Regions from separate parts of the Homo sapiens genome. Here regions 2 and 3 are each linked to region 1. Evidence: promoter capture Hi-C in 16 types of primary human blood cells and fetal thymus (Javierre and others, 2016). All regions are on one chromosome and are shown on one strand. Each heading gives the region's core, a stretch centred on a gene start or on the middle of the fragment in contact. The rest is flanking DNA. Distances are from core to core; before and after follow the strand shown. Region 1 holds the start of SELP (selectin P). Region 2 overlaps SELE (selectin E). Region 3 holds the start of SELL (selectin L).

What was found. The method cuts DNA at HindIII sites, captures the fragments that hold promoters and counts their contacts. A CHiCAGO score of 5 or more calls a contact.
Region 2: a fragment that was not itself captured here is called in contact with the fragment with the promoter of SELP in region 1 in 1 of 17 cell types (neutrophils); the score reaches 5.5 in neutrophils.
Region 3: the fragment with the promoter of SELL here is called in contact with the fragment with the promoter of SELP in region 1 in 12 of 17 cell types (neutrophils, non-activated CD4 T cells, total B cells and 9 more); the score reaches 10.2 in neutrophils.

The regions. Positions count from the first base shown.
Region 1 is chr1:169,627,581-169,631,825 of GRCh38, forward strand. It overlaps SELP (selectin P), which reads right to left and starts at 2,544. Exons shown (of 17, transcript NM_003005.4): 1 at 2,492-2,544. The coding sequence starts at 2,494. The HindIII fragment of the contact is 5,122 bases long and covers 2,232-4,245 here.
Region 2 is chr1:169,729,709-169,733,428 of GRCh38, forward strand. It overlaps SELE (selectin E), which reads right to left. Exons shown (of 14, transcript NM_000450.2): 3 at 2,907-3,290; 4 at 2,127-2,234; 5 at 724-909. Among named protein-coding and RNA genes, the nearest start is that of SELE, 2.5 kb to the right of the region's middle. The HindIII fragment of the contact is 1,647 bases long and covers 1,277-2,923 here.
Region 3 is chr1:169,709,256-169,713,500 of GRCh38, forward strand. It overlaps SELL (selectin L), which reads right to left and starts at 2,365. Exons shown (of 9, transcript NM_000655.5): 1 at 2,241-2,365; 2 at 1,181-1,262. The coding sequence starts at 2,243. The HindIII fragment of the contact is 5,813 bases long and covers 1-4,005 here.

The DNA of each region.
Region 1 (4,245 bases), core at 1,294-3,793:
CAATATAATGAATGTCATTTATAAAACCACTGTGTGCCTACTCTCTAGGTTTAGGTCCAGGGTTTTTTCTAAACACAGTTTTTTATGTAGTAAGTCATTTTGATTTTTGAGGATTTGATCAATAAGCTTCTACTTAAAGATCTCTGAAGATGCACATTCTAAGAGCTGGTGGCTAGCCCAGGAGAGTCTGAACTATTTTAGTTGCATTTTGAAAAACAGGTAATGAAAAGAAGAGTAAGGACTGGAAGCCACATAAGGTGGTTAAAAGGTATAAATGGACGAAAATCCAGACCTGCTCCTTAGCCCACTAAAACTTTTTTTTTGTTTTGTTTTTGAGACAAGTCTTGCTCTGTCACCCAGGCTGGAGTTCAGTGGTGTGATCTCAACTCACTGCCACCTCCACCTCCTGGGTTCAAGAGTTTGTCCTGCCTCAGCCTCCTGAGTAGCTGGGATTACAGGCACATGCCAACATGCCCAGCCAGTTTTTGTAAGTTTAGTAAATATGGTGTTTCACCATGTTGGCCAGGCTGCTCTTGAACTCTCGACTTCAAGTGATCTATGCGCCTCGGCCTCCCAAAGTGCTGGGATTACAGGCATGAGCCACTGAGCCCGGCCATAGCCCGCTAAAACTTTGACAAACATCAGTGCAATTTAACTATAAGTTCCCAATCAAGAGCTACTCCTCTGAGATCTATCTGATTGAAAATACCCCACCAGAAAAACCTTATCCTCATTTTCTCAGGTCCTAAAAGTTAATTAAAGCCACTCTCTGAACTTGAAGCAAAATTTACACAGGCAGTTTGAGGTTTCTGAATCTTTGGGGCCAAATGTGCTCAGAGGAAAAGGAAGAGGTCTTGTCTTTGAAATATTAAAAACCATTCCAGGGCTGGGGCCTTAGCACTTCGCTGTAGAGCTCAAGCCTAATTTCAGGGTACCAAGAGAGGGGCTTCTGAACATAAAGCCCAGGAGGCAATCGAGAAGGGTTCTTACCCTGGGATCCACATGGAGGTCTGGGAACCTCCTGTGGTTGTCTCTAAAGGTTGGTGTTTATGTCGATGTTTTTGCTTTCATCTGGGAAAGACAAGTTGTAACTTTCATCAAAATCTCAAAGAACTCTCTGATCCAATAAGTTCATACCTTTGAAATAGAGGAGGATGCCAAGGAGAGTAGAAGGAAGAGAGGAATAACTGCTCATTTAAGTTAACCAATTCAGAAGTATGACATGCAAAAAGACAGGACAAAAGTAATTCATATCCTTAGGTCATTGTGGTTCAAACTTAAGACAGGCTCAAACTCCTTCCTCTTCTCTTTATCATACTCTTATTCCTGTTTTCCCCAACACAGAAACCCACATTATAAGTACTTGAAAAGTGTGCTATAGTAAAGCAAAGCAGTAGGATGAATCAGGTGTATGCGGTACTTTTTTCTGGAGTCCCACAGAAAGGTGCTCAAAAACAGAGACCTGCCTGGTTCCTCCATAGCCACAGACTGCAGGATTTCGGACCCTGGGACTATGTGGGATACTCTTGGAAAGTCTGAGGAAAATTGGAAGTAGCTTAACCATGTGCATTTTATCTAGGTGCATATAACATTGCTGAGTTCAAAATGCCTAGCTATCCTTGGATCTTCCCTGAATTAGAAGTAGCCTAACCACGTGCATCTTATCCATGAGCATATAACATTGCTGAGTTCAAAATGCCTAGCTATCCTTGGATCTTCCCTGAATCCTAAACCCCACTATTCCTAAGAATTTTCTTTTTATTGTAACAATAATGGCTAACATTTACTAATCACTTACTATGTGTCAGGCTCAGATCTGGATGCTTTTCAGCAAAATCTTATTTAATCCTCATGATGAAACTATAGAGTATTATTACTATATCCATTTTATAGAAGAAGAAACTGAGTCATTAACAAGATTGAGTCTTAGGGCAGAAAAGGAAACTATGTGGATATTCCAGATCAGTCCCAGAAGATTCATAGGCTCACAGAAAGAAATGGGAGGGATGGGGATGAGAAACTATTCAATTGTAAGCTTGTCCCAGGGCACCTACCCAGTCTTCCATTTATTCCATCATTTATCCCAGAGAGAAGTACAGTCTTGGAAAATGGGGTGACAGGTTTACCATGATCTATTCTCAGAGAGCCCCTATAAATTCTAGTAGGAGGAACAGCAGCTGCGGAGCCAGAGGACAGGCCCCAGATCCCAACATCATGTAGCCTAACAGTGAAGCTTAGATAAAACACAGCCTCTGTAAACCACGATGGCTTTATTTGTAAAATAGAAATAGCAACCTCAACTCACAAGGGTGTTGGGAGGGTCAAAGTGGACAGCAAGTTTAAAAGTACTCACAAAATCTAATAGGCAATTCAACATAAAACTCCATGGCTATCGCTGTTCCTCACTTTCTGAACCTTTACCTGCCTGACTTTACTCCATACCACTCCAACTCACTTCAACCACTTCCCATGCAGAAAAAAATAAACTCACCATCTCCTCTGTGACTCTGCTGGTTTTCTGCCTTCTGCCCAACCCAGACTGCTTACAGTCTCACTGCCTCCCCTCAGTGTCAGGCTGTTTAGAAAAACAACTTCCTATTCACATTCCAGAAACTCACCACAGCCCTTCCCATGAAGTTAGAATGTTGATAATGCAAGAGTAATGTTGGCAGCTTAGAAATAGTGGTTGCCAAGAGGCAAGGGGTCACCCCCTTCCATGGAAGATGGTCTGGAGGCAGGCGCAAGGTGAATTACTCCTGGATATCCCAGGCTGAGCAATGTGGGAACAGTACACACACAAAGGTTTCCTTGGATTATGATATAAGCTCCAATTTAAAGTAGTACATTTGGAAAACATGCTTTGAATTAATTACAATGTGATTTTCCAGTGCCCATTTTCCAGTAATTATGACATGTCAGTGAATGTTTACTATTCCGGCAGCCTTCTGAGGGAAAGAAGCAAAATTAGTAGCACAAAAAAAAATAGAGAGAAATGGAAAAAGCCACTAACAGTTTTCTGGCGCTTGGGAAATTTTATTGGTAAGTTTCAAAATGACGTATTAAATAGACATAGGTCATGTGAAAGGAATTCTGCTTCTTATATCAGAAATAAAAAGGTATACAAATAGATACCTTTTTATTTTCCTCTTCCCATGGGATGTGTAGGACCAAAAAGCTGTTGGCATAGTGGTTAAGACTTCAGCTGTGCTGTTAAACTGCCCGAGACCCATCCTGGCTCCTCTTCTGGCTATCTACTGGGCAAACTACTTAAGCTCTCTATGCCTCTGTTTCCTCAACTGTAAAACAGAATAACAGAACTTGCCTCACCGGGTTGTTGTAGGATGAAATGAGTTAATATGTACAGAGTGATTGAAATGACACTTGGCCCACAATTGATGCTCAACAAATGTTAGTGATTATTATTACTTTTCAGATTGATCTCAGACAGCAAAATCAAGTATCAAGTATTTAGTTTCAAGTCAGAAAGCCATAACTCCTATTTATACTCTTGGAATTCTATTGTACAGTAGTAGGTATTATTCTTCATTCACTTCATGATGGTTACAGCTTGTAAATAGGCATCTCATGGATAAATTTAAAATGGAATGAAGTAGAAACATTGGAAGAAAGTCTAAAGGTAAAGATGAATTAGGGTATATAAGGCTGCATTTGCACGTTGGAATTTGGGACCAAGAAGAAAAAATTAATTATATAGTAGAAGTAGAAAAGATGGTGAAGGAAATGCTGTTGAAGGAATGACTGTAGGGGAATAAGGGAAACTTAGAGAGAGGAAAAAATGAGGAACTTCTTGGCAGCATGATGCAGTTCAGAGTCCAGACCCTAGAGTCAGACTGCCTGGCTCCACCACCTACCAGCTGTGTTGGGCGTTACTAATCTCCCTATAACTCAGTTTCCTCAGTGATGTGGTTTGGCTGTGTCCCCACCCAAATCTCATCTGGAATTGTAGCTCCCATAATTCCCACAGGTTGTGGGAGGCACCTGGTAGATCATTGAATCATGGGGGTGGTTTCCCCCATACTGTTCTCATGGTAGTGAATAAGTCGCATGAGAGCTGATGGTTTTATAAGGGGAAACCCCTTTTGTTTGGTTCTCATTTCTCTCTCTTCCCTGCTGCCATGTAAGACGTGTCTTTTGCTTTCTACCATGATTGTGAGGACTCCCCATCCACGTGGAACTGTGAGTCCATTAAACCTTTTTTTTTTTAATAAGTTATCCAGTCTCGGG
Region 2 (3,720 bases), core at 850-3,349, 100 kb after region 1:
AGAATGATCTTTTCACTTCCTATTGAGCTGGGTGCCTAACAGAGTGAGGAAGCTGCCTTCAAAGGGTAGATCCCAAAGTCCTATGTCAATTCTTAGGGACATGCACAGCCAGAATAAAAGCTTTTATTCTTTTTCATGGATATTCTATCTTTTCTGATTTCCACTTTGCCTATGCTGAGTGGTCTCTAATCTATGTTATCATTTACGTGAGGTAAAAATTTAAAAAAAATAGATTCCAGATTAGGAGTTATGACTAGTACTGACATACGTAGGCTATTCATTTATTTTAGCCCATCAGAGCCTGAAGAACTGATTTTTCTTTTTTTGGCCTCTGGTTCAGAAAGATAAAATTAAGAGAGAAAAAGAGATACTAAGACTGCTTGACTATCATGGTCTTAAGTTAGTCCCATGGCTTGGAAAAGTTAAACAGGGAAACAAGATGAGAAATCCATTGAGATTTCTAGAGCTTTATTGTTTTATGGTCTCCCTTACAAATCACCAGAGCCTCAGAAACACCCATTTCAAGCATAGAATAAAAAAACCTCTCTCAACCCAAGCAGGTACTGGGTTGGCAATATACATTGGCTGAGAGAACAAATTGTATTAAAAACAAAAACAAAAAAAAAACTTTCCCTGAAGTTTTGAAAATGTAAGTTGAATCAAAAAACAGAAGCAATGAGGGATGAGTTACAGAACGTTCTGTGCATTCTCAGAGGGATTTACCATTGCAGGCTGGAATAGGAGCACTCCATTCTCCAGAGGACATACACTGCATGGTCTCCATGCTGCTTGGCAGGTAACCCCTATCACAGCTGATAGAGCAGGAAGAATTGTAGCTGAAGTTTCCCAGTGGGTGACTGCAAACCAGGCTTCCATGCTCAGGGGATTCCAGGGCTGTACAGTTCACAACTGAAAAAGAAACCCAAATCAGTTCTGCTCATCTCTCACCTTTAACAGATAAGAACACTGGAAACTAGAACTACAGTTTGGTTTTTTTTTTTTTTAGTTTAAAAATTTATAAAATTTCTAATGGAATTTGTAAAATTGACTGTAATTCTACCCCTTTTCTTTTATTCAAGAAAATGCTGATCCATAACAACAACAACAAAAAAGCAGTGATGACAACCATAAAAAAGAAATATTGAGTGATATGGGGAGAGTAGTGTAATTGTGTTTACCTCAAAACTGTTCAAATTATATGAACAAACACAGCAAACTTAGGTACCACAACAAATTTCTTGTTACTTTTCTCACAACTGCTAAAAATACTACAGTAAGCTTCCAACCAGGATGAGAACCATTCACAAAGCTATATTTCAAATTTAAGTACTAGAATACATTACAAATTTTAAAACCCTAATGCTGCACTGTCTACTATAGTAGCCACTATCTGTGTGGCTACTCAAATTTAAACTTGAATTCGTTGAAATCAAATAACATTTAAAATTCAGTTCCTCAGTGTCACCAGCCACATTTCAAGTACTCAATAACCACATGTGGCTCATAGGTACACACTGGAAAACACAGCTATGGAACATTTCCATTATCACAAAAGCTCTACTGCACAACGCTGTGCTAAGGAATCTTGGAGAGAAGCTCATCTAACTCTCTTAATGTACAAATTTAGGAACTGAGACCTCATTTCATTCAAGTGACTTGCTCCATGCTACACGGCTAGTCATTACAGAGCCAGAGGCCAGAGCATGAACCAAGATACCCTGGACTCTGTAACTCACTCATTTCTACTGCAACGTCTTGTTACCACCTAGATGAGGTGAGTACATGTTCCTCGCAGGGACACAGAATTACAGTTTATTGAATGTGTCCTGTGTGCCAGGCACCATGTAACCATGAGCCTATGAAGTTCACACTATTATTATCCTCATTTTACAATGAGAAAACTGACATAGAGAGTTAAACTATCTTGTCAAGGTGCCAAAATAAATAACTGGTGAATCTAGGACTCAAACCCAGCAGGGTCTGACTTCATAGTCTCAGCTCACGATCACCATATGACACCATCTGCACCAGGGAAGGGAAGGCATGCAGACCTGACTCTAATGCCAGCTAGGACGTGAGATGGTGCTACCATCTCAAGTGAAGAAAGAGGCAAGAACCAGACTTACTTTGCTCACACTTGAGTCCACTGAAGCCAGGGTCACACTTGCAAGTGTAATTATTGATGGTCTCTACACATTCACCGTGGCCACTGCAGGATGTATTGGTACAGGCAGCTACGGAAAATACAAAGCATGATGAGGAGGACTATTACTGTGCTTATACTGAGTGCCTTTGATTTTAGAATCAACAGTGTGCAACAGAGACATCAGCAGTCCTACAGAGTGCCATAGACTTTAACTGAAGTGTTTTACAAAGTTCCAAATCTGAGTTTCAGGCCCACCTATCCTAAACCTTGATGCTAATGTATAGCTGTGGCTGGCACCTACCGTAGAAAATTTACTTCTTCACAAACTCTGAAGACAGTTCCCCTACCACAAATAAACAAGTAATTAAAATATGTATTGTGTGTGTGCATTTTTATATGTAAAGAACTACATATTTGCCTACAGTATTTATATATATTTTATATATATACATACACACATATATGTGTGTATATGTGTGTATGTATATATATAAAATGTATATAAATGCTGTAGGCTATATATATATACACACACACATATATGTGTGTGTGTATATATGTGTGTGTGTGTATATATATACATATCCACATATTCTTGCCCACATTCACACAAAACAGCAAAAGAGAGAAACTTTAGCAGTTAAACAGAATCTTTTGGAACATAAAATGACCACAATAGAGAGCAGTTTTTGCATGCTGTAAATTTGCCAAGATGCCCACACACTGAAACTACCTCCCACTGCTGCCGCAAACTCCCTACCTGTGTAGCATAGGGCAAGCTTCTTCTTGCTGCACCTCTCATCATTCCACATGCCCACATCTTTTTCTCTCTTGATGTAGATCTCCACGCAGTCCTCATCTTTTTGCCTATTGTTGGGTTCACCTGGAGCCCAGTTCTTGGCTTCTTCTGTCAGAGGTTTCTGGGTTCCTACCCAGACCCACACATTGTTGACTTTTCTGATTCCAATCCAGTAATAACTTGGTGAATAGCTCAATATGGAGTTTAGGTACTCAATCTCTTCTTTGTTTTGAATTGCAACCAGGTGTGTGTACCTTTGCTGACAATAAGCACTGGCCTCATCATAAGTCATAGCTTCCGTGGAGGTGTTGTAAGACCAGGCTCCACTCTCTTTAATGAGAAGCACTAGTGGGAGAAAAAGAAAAGAAATGGTAGAGTTTGGTACTGTTGTGGTTTAACTCTGACAACTGTGCTTTTTATTGTCTTATTTTTGGCAATGTTTGTGACATGGCCCAGACTTTTCTCATCTTTTCAAAAGTAAGAAGTACGTATGAAGAAACAGCGACTTATTGTTTATCTCTTTTGTGACTGCCACCCACTAGGTACCTTATCCACACTCACTCACAACATTATAGTATACCCATTTTGTAGTAGAATAATAATCAGAATAACTAAGCTTTATTGAGCACTTAGTATGCACCAAGAAGCACTGTATGAGGTACTTTCCATGAACCATGCTATTGAATCCTCACAATGCATCTGGGAAATAGGTCATTATGATCCACACTTTACACTTAAGGAAAGGGAGACACCAAGAGGTAAAGTAAATGACCCC
Region 3 (4,245 bases), core at 1,115-3,614, 81 kb after region 1:
TAATAAGGACAGGAAGAACAGTGACATACTTTTAAGTAACCTCTTTTACATAAAAAACATTTTATTTTACCATAGGAAGAACTGCTTCTGGAAAAGCCCAATATACCACTCAACTCTTATATATCTAACTGTATAATTTTTAAAAAGAACAATTTACAAAGCCAAATGGTATAGGATTATGAAATTCATTAGATCATGTTCTATACACAAAGAGACTCAACTGATGATGTTTAATAAACATATGGACCCATCAAATATGAGGGCTTTGAAGATATCTAATTAAACACATAATTACACAATGACTTCATAATAATATATGGCATTCTAAGCATGGTATGATCTACATGAATCACTATTTAATACAGTAAAGAAACAGATATAATTGATGGTAAAGAGCATCATAAAATAAACATTTTGAACAGAGTTTTGAATGAGCATTCCACTAGAATGCAAGTTCTAAGAGGGAAAAAACTGTTGTGTCCACTGCTGTATCCTTAGTGCCTAGCATAAATTTCACACATTGTAGGGACTCAGAAAATACCTGTTGTATGAAAAGAGCACTAAGTTTCTATGTGACACAGTGCAGACATGGCATAAGGAATGTGTGAACGGGAGAGTTAGCATGTTTGCTTGGCTAGAGCTGAAAATCCAGGCTAGGGAGAAAGAAGACATTAGTTTACTTAGGAAATGAAAAACCAAGTTCAAAGCTATTGCTGGAGAGTCTTCAAGAATCAGATATAAAATTTGTCACAACAATGGGAGAAGGACCAAAAAATGATAAACCCCCGTCCCTTAATAAGCTCGTATTGTAATTGTAGAAATGACATTAATGTACACTGAACTATGAATAAAAAATAGAAAATGAGGTGCTAAATATTTGGTACAGATTGTAAGTACCTTAACAGAGATTTCTTAATTAACATTATTCCTTTATAATTGAGGGATTTTGTGGGGTTATTGGGATTTGAACTCTACAGCATGGGCTATTATAGGTTAAAAATAGTGTTCAGGAGTTTCTGGGGAAGAACTAAAGGTAAGAAGAAAAGAGATGTTTACAGAAGGGATAGAATTAACAGCTCTGTGAAATAATTTTCCCTTAGACTATGTATAACTAGTGGATATTTAAGAAAAATGAATATAAGTAAAATAGACTTAGCGATATATAAATATCATAACATACCACAACAGAGCATTGTCCACCCCCACAACTTGAAGATGTTCCATAAGTCCCTCTGGGTGCTCTGACATTTCCATGGAAATATCTGCAAATGAAATACAAAATTATATTTAGATGTATACTCTTAAACCACACATTTATAGCCTTTGAGGTGGTGCTTACAACTTTCTTAATAATCAGAATAAAACACATATGTCTACTAACCCTGTCTGAGGTAACAGGTTTCTCAGACATAGATGAAAAATTACTTCAAATTTACATCAGAACTGATGCACAGTTTTGTTTTGTTCTATTTTATTTTTACGCTTTAGTCTCAAGTTGCTAATCGGTACTGCCCTGAATTTTTTCTATGGTTTGGTAATTTTTATACCTGCTTTTCTGCTGAGCTATTAGATAAAACTATTTAATATTTACTATGTATATTTTTTAAAGTATTGTTGCTGCTTAATTAACTATTGATGCTTATATTTAATGTTATAGCCTCACTCTTGATCATAATGGGTCAATGCCTCAAATACCTAAAAAAAAAAAAAATTAGATAGCCAGACACCAGGAAAGAAAAGTATTTCTTTTTTTAATAAAAAGAAATACCTTTTTGAGCAACTGAAATGACAAAGTCACAAATTTCCTGCACACCTTAAAATATACTTAATGTAAATGACGAGTTAATGGGTGCAGCACACCAACATGGCACATGTATACATGTGTGACAAACCTGTATGTTGTGCACATGTACCCTAGAACTTAAAGTATAATTTTAAAAAAATTCTATCTTCCAAAGCATATCACTTCTCAGGTAGACACAGTGTTTATTGCAAAAGATCTGATTTCAATAGTATTTCTTCAAGAGTCTCCCCAGAGACAAAGTCAAGAAGAGGAAATCAGCATATCTGAGAAGAAAGATTTCAGGATCACTTTTTTTGAGGGTCTGAGAAAATGTTTAGTTTCTATATTATTTAAAACCAGAATTGAAATGGGGTGATTCCTATCCTTGCCACCTGCCTCTACAACCCCAAGAGTTTCTATCTGAGCATCTAAACGTCTTTTAGGCTGAAAGGCTCACCATGGCTTTGCTTGGTCCTTCTCTAGTTCTTCTGCAGCCCATTGAGCCTCTTGACTTAGCACAAGGGTCTCAGGTCCTTGCCCAAAGGGAGTGTGCTGTGCTGCAGGTAGACTGCACTGAATGTCAACAGAAAGCCTTGCTTTCTTTCATTTCTCTAACCCAGTCTCACATCCTCCTCCTCCTCCCCTTTTCCCTCCCCTTCCTCCTGCACTTCTCTTTCCTCTTTCCCCACCCCTTTCCTAGACTGGCCTCTATTGCCTCCCACTGAGACAAAAATGAACTGCTGATCAGAAAGTAATGTGACTAGATTCTCTCTTCCTTCCCTCCTTTCTATCCTTCCTTCCATTCTCCTATGCATCTTTCCTTACCCTCCTCCTCCTTCACTCATTGTTGTTGCTGTTCTTCTTCCTCTTCTTTTTCCTCCTGCTCCTCTTCTTCTACTTGTTCTTGTTCTTGTTTTTGTTTGGTTCTTGTTCTCCTCTTCCTCCTTCTCTCTCTCCTCCTCCTCCTTCTTTTCCACCACCCTCCCCTATCTTTTTCATAAATGCTAAACTAACTCTTGGCTACCTGTGGTAAATGGCCCTTGGAAATTGCAAATACTACAAATCAAAACTGCATTTCAGACATATTTATGATGTTTGCAAAACTTCAGTAGAGCTAAGCAGTGGACTTGACTCGTTTCGGTTCCTTCACCTCCGTCTTTCCTTGCTCACCACCTAGTGGACGTCCTTGTTAGTGGCACTTCCTGAAGTTAACCCCTGAAGAGAGCCCATGCTCTCTAGCTTTTCACCGTGTAGGTTTGGGAGCCTACAAGTACCTTTAATATTCTTGGACTATAAAATGAGATGGTTTTATAAGACTGCATGTGAAATTAGGACCCATATGATGAAGGACAATAAAAAGGAAGACCCACTGATGTGAGTCAATGAGTCAAATGCAAATCAGATTTGCATTTTTAGGAAAATAATAATAACAACAACAAAAACTCTGAAGCTCAGCGCCCCATATTTATTATATTGTTTAATCTTTATAACAGCTCTCTGCTATAGATATGATTATTATCCCCATTCTAAAGAGTCTCAAAGAGGTTAAGAAACAAATTCAAAAACTAGCGAAAGACAAGAAATAACTAAGATCAGAGCAGAACCATAGGAGGTAGAGACACGAAAAAGCCTTCAAAAAATCAATAAATCCAGGAGCTGCATTTTGAAAAGATTAACAAAATAGATGGACCACTAGCTAGACTAATAAGAAAGAAGAATCAATAGACACAATAAAAAATGGTAAAGGGGATATTACCACTGATCCCGTAGAAATACAAACTACCATCAGAGATTACTATAAACATCTTTACACAAATAAACTAGAAAATCTAGAAGAAATGGATAAATTCCTGGACACATACACCCTCCCAAGACTAAACCAGGAAGAAGTCAAATCCCTGAATAGACTAATAACAAGTTCTGAAATTAAGGCAGCAATTAATAGCCTACCAACTAAAAAAAGCCCAGGACCAGATGGATTCACAGCCAAATTCTACCAGAGGTACAAAGAGGTGCTGGTACCATTCCTTCTGAAACTATTCCAGAGAATAGAAAAAGAGGAACTCCTCCCTCACTCATTTTATGAGGCCAGCATCATCCTGATACTAAAACCTGGCAGAGACACAACAAAAAAAGAAAATTTCAGGCCAATATCCCTGATGAACATCATTGCGAAAATACTCAATAAAATACGGCAAACTGAATCCAGCAGCACATCAAAAAGCTTATCAACCACAATCAAGTTGGCTTCATCCCTGGAATGCAAGGCTGGTTCAACATACACAAATCAATAAACAGAATCCATTACGTAAACAGAACCAATCACAAAAACCACGTGATTATCTCAATAGATGCAGAAAAGGCCTTGGATAAAATTCAACACCCCTTCATGCTAAAAACTCTCAATAAACTAGGTATTGATGGAACGTATCTCAAAATAATAAGAGCTATTTATGACAAAC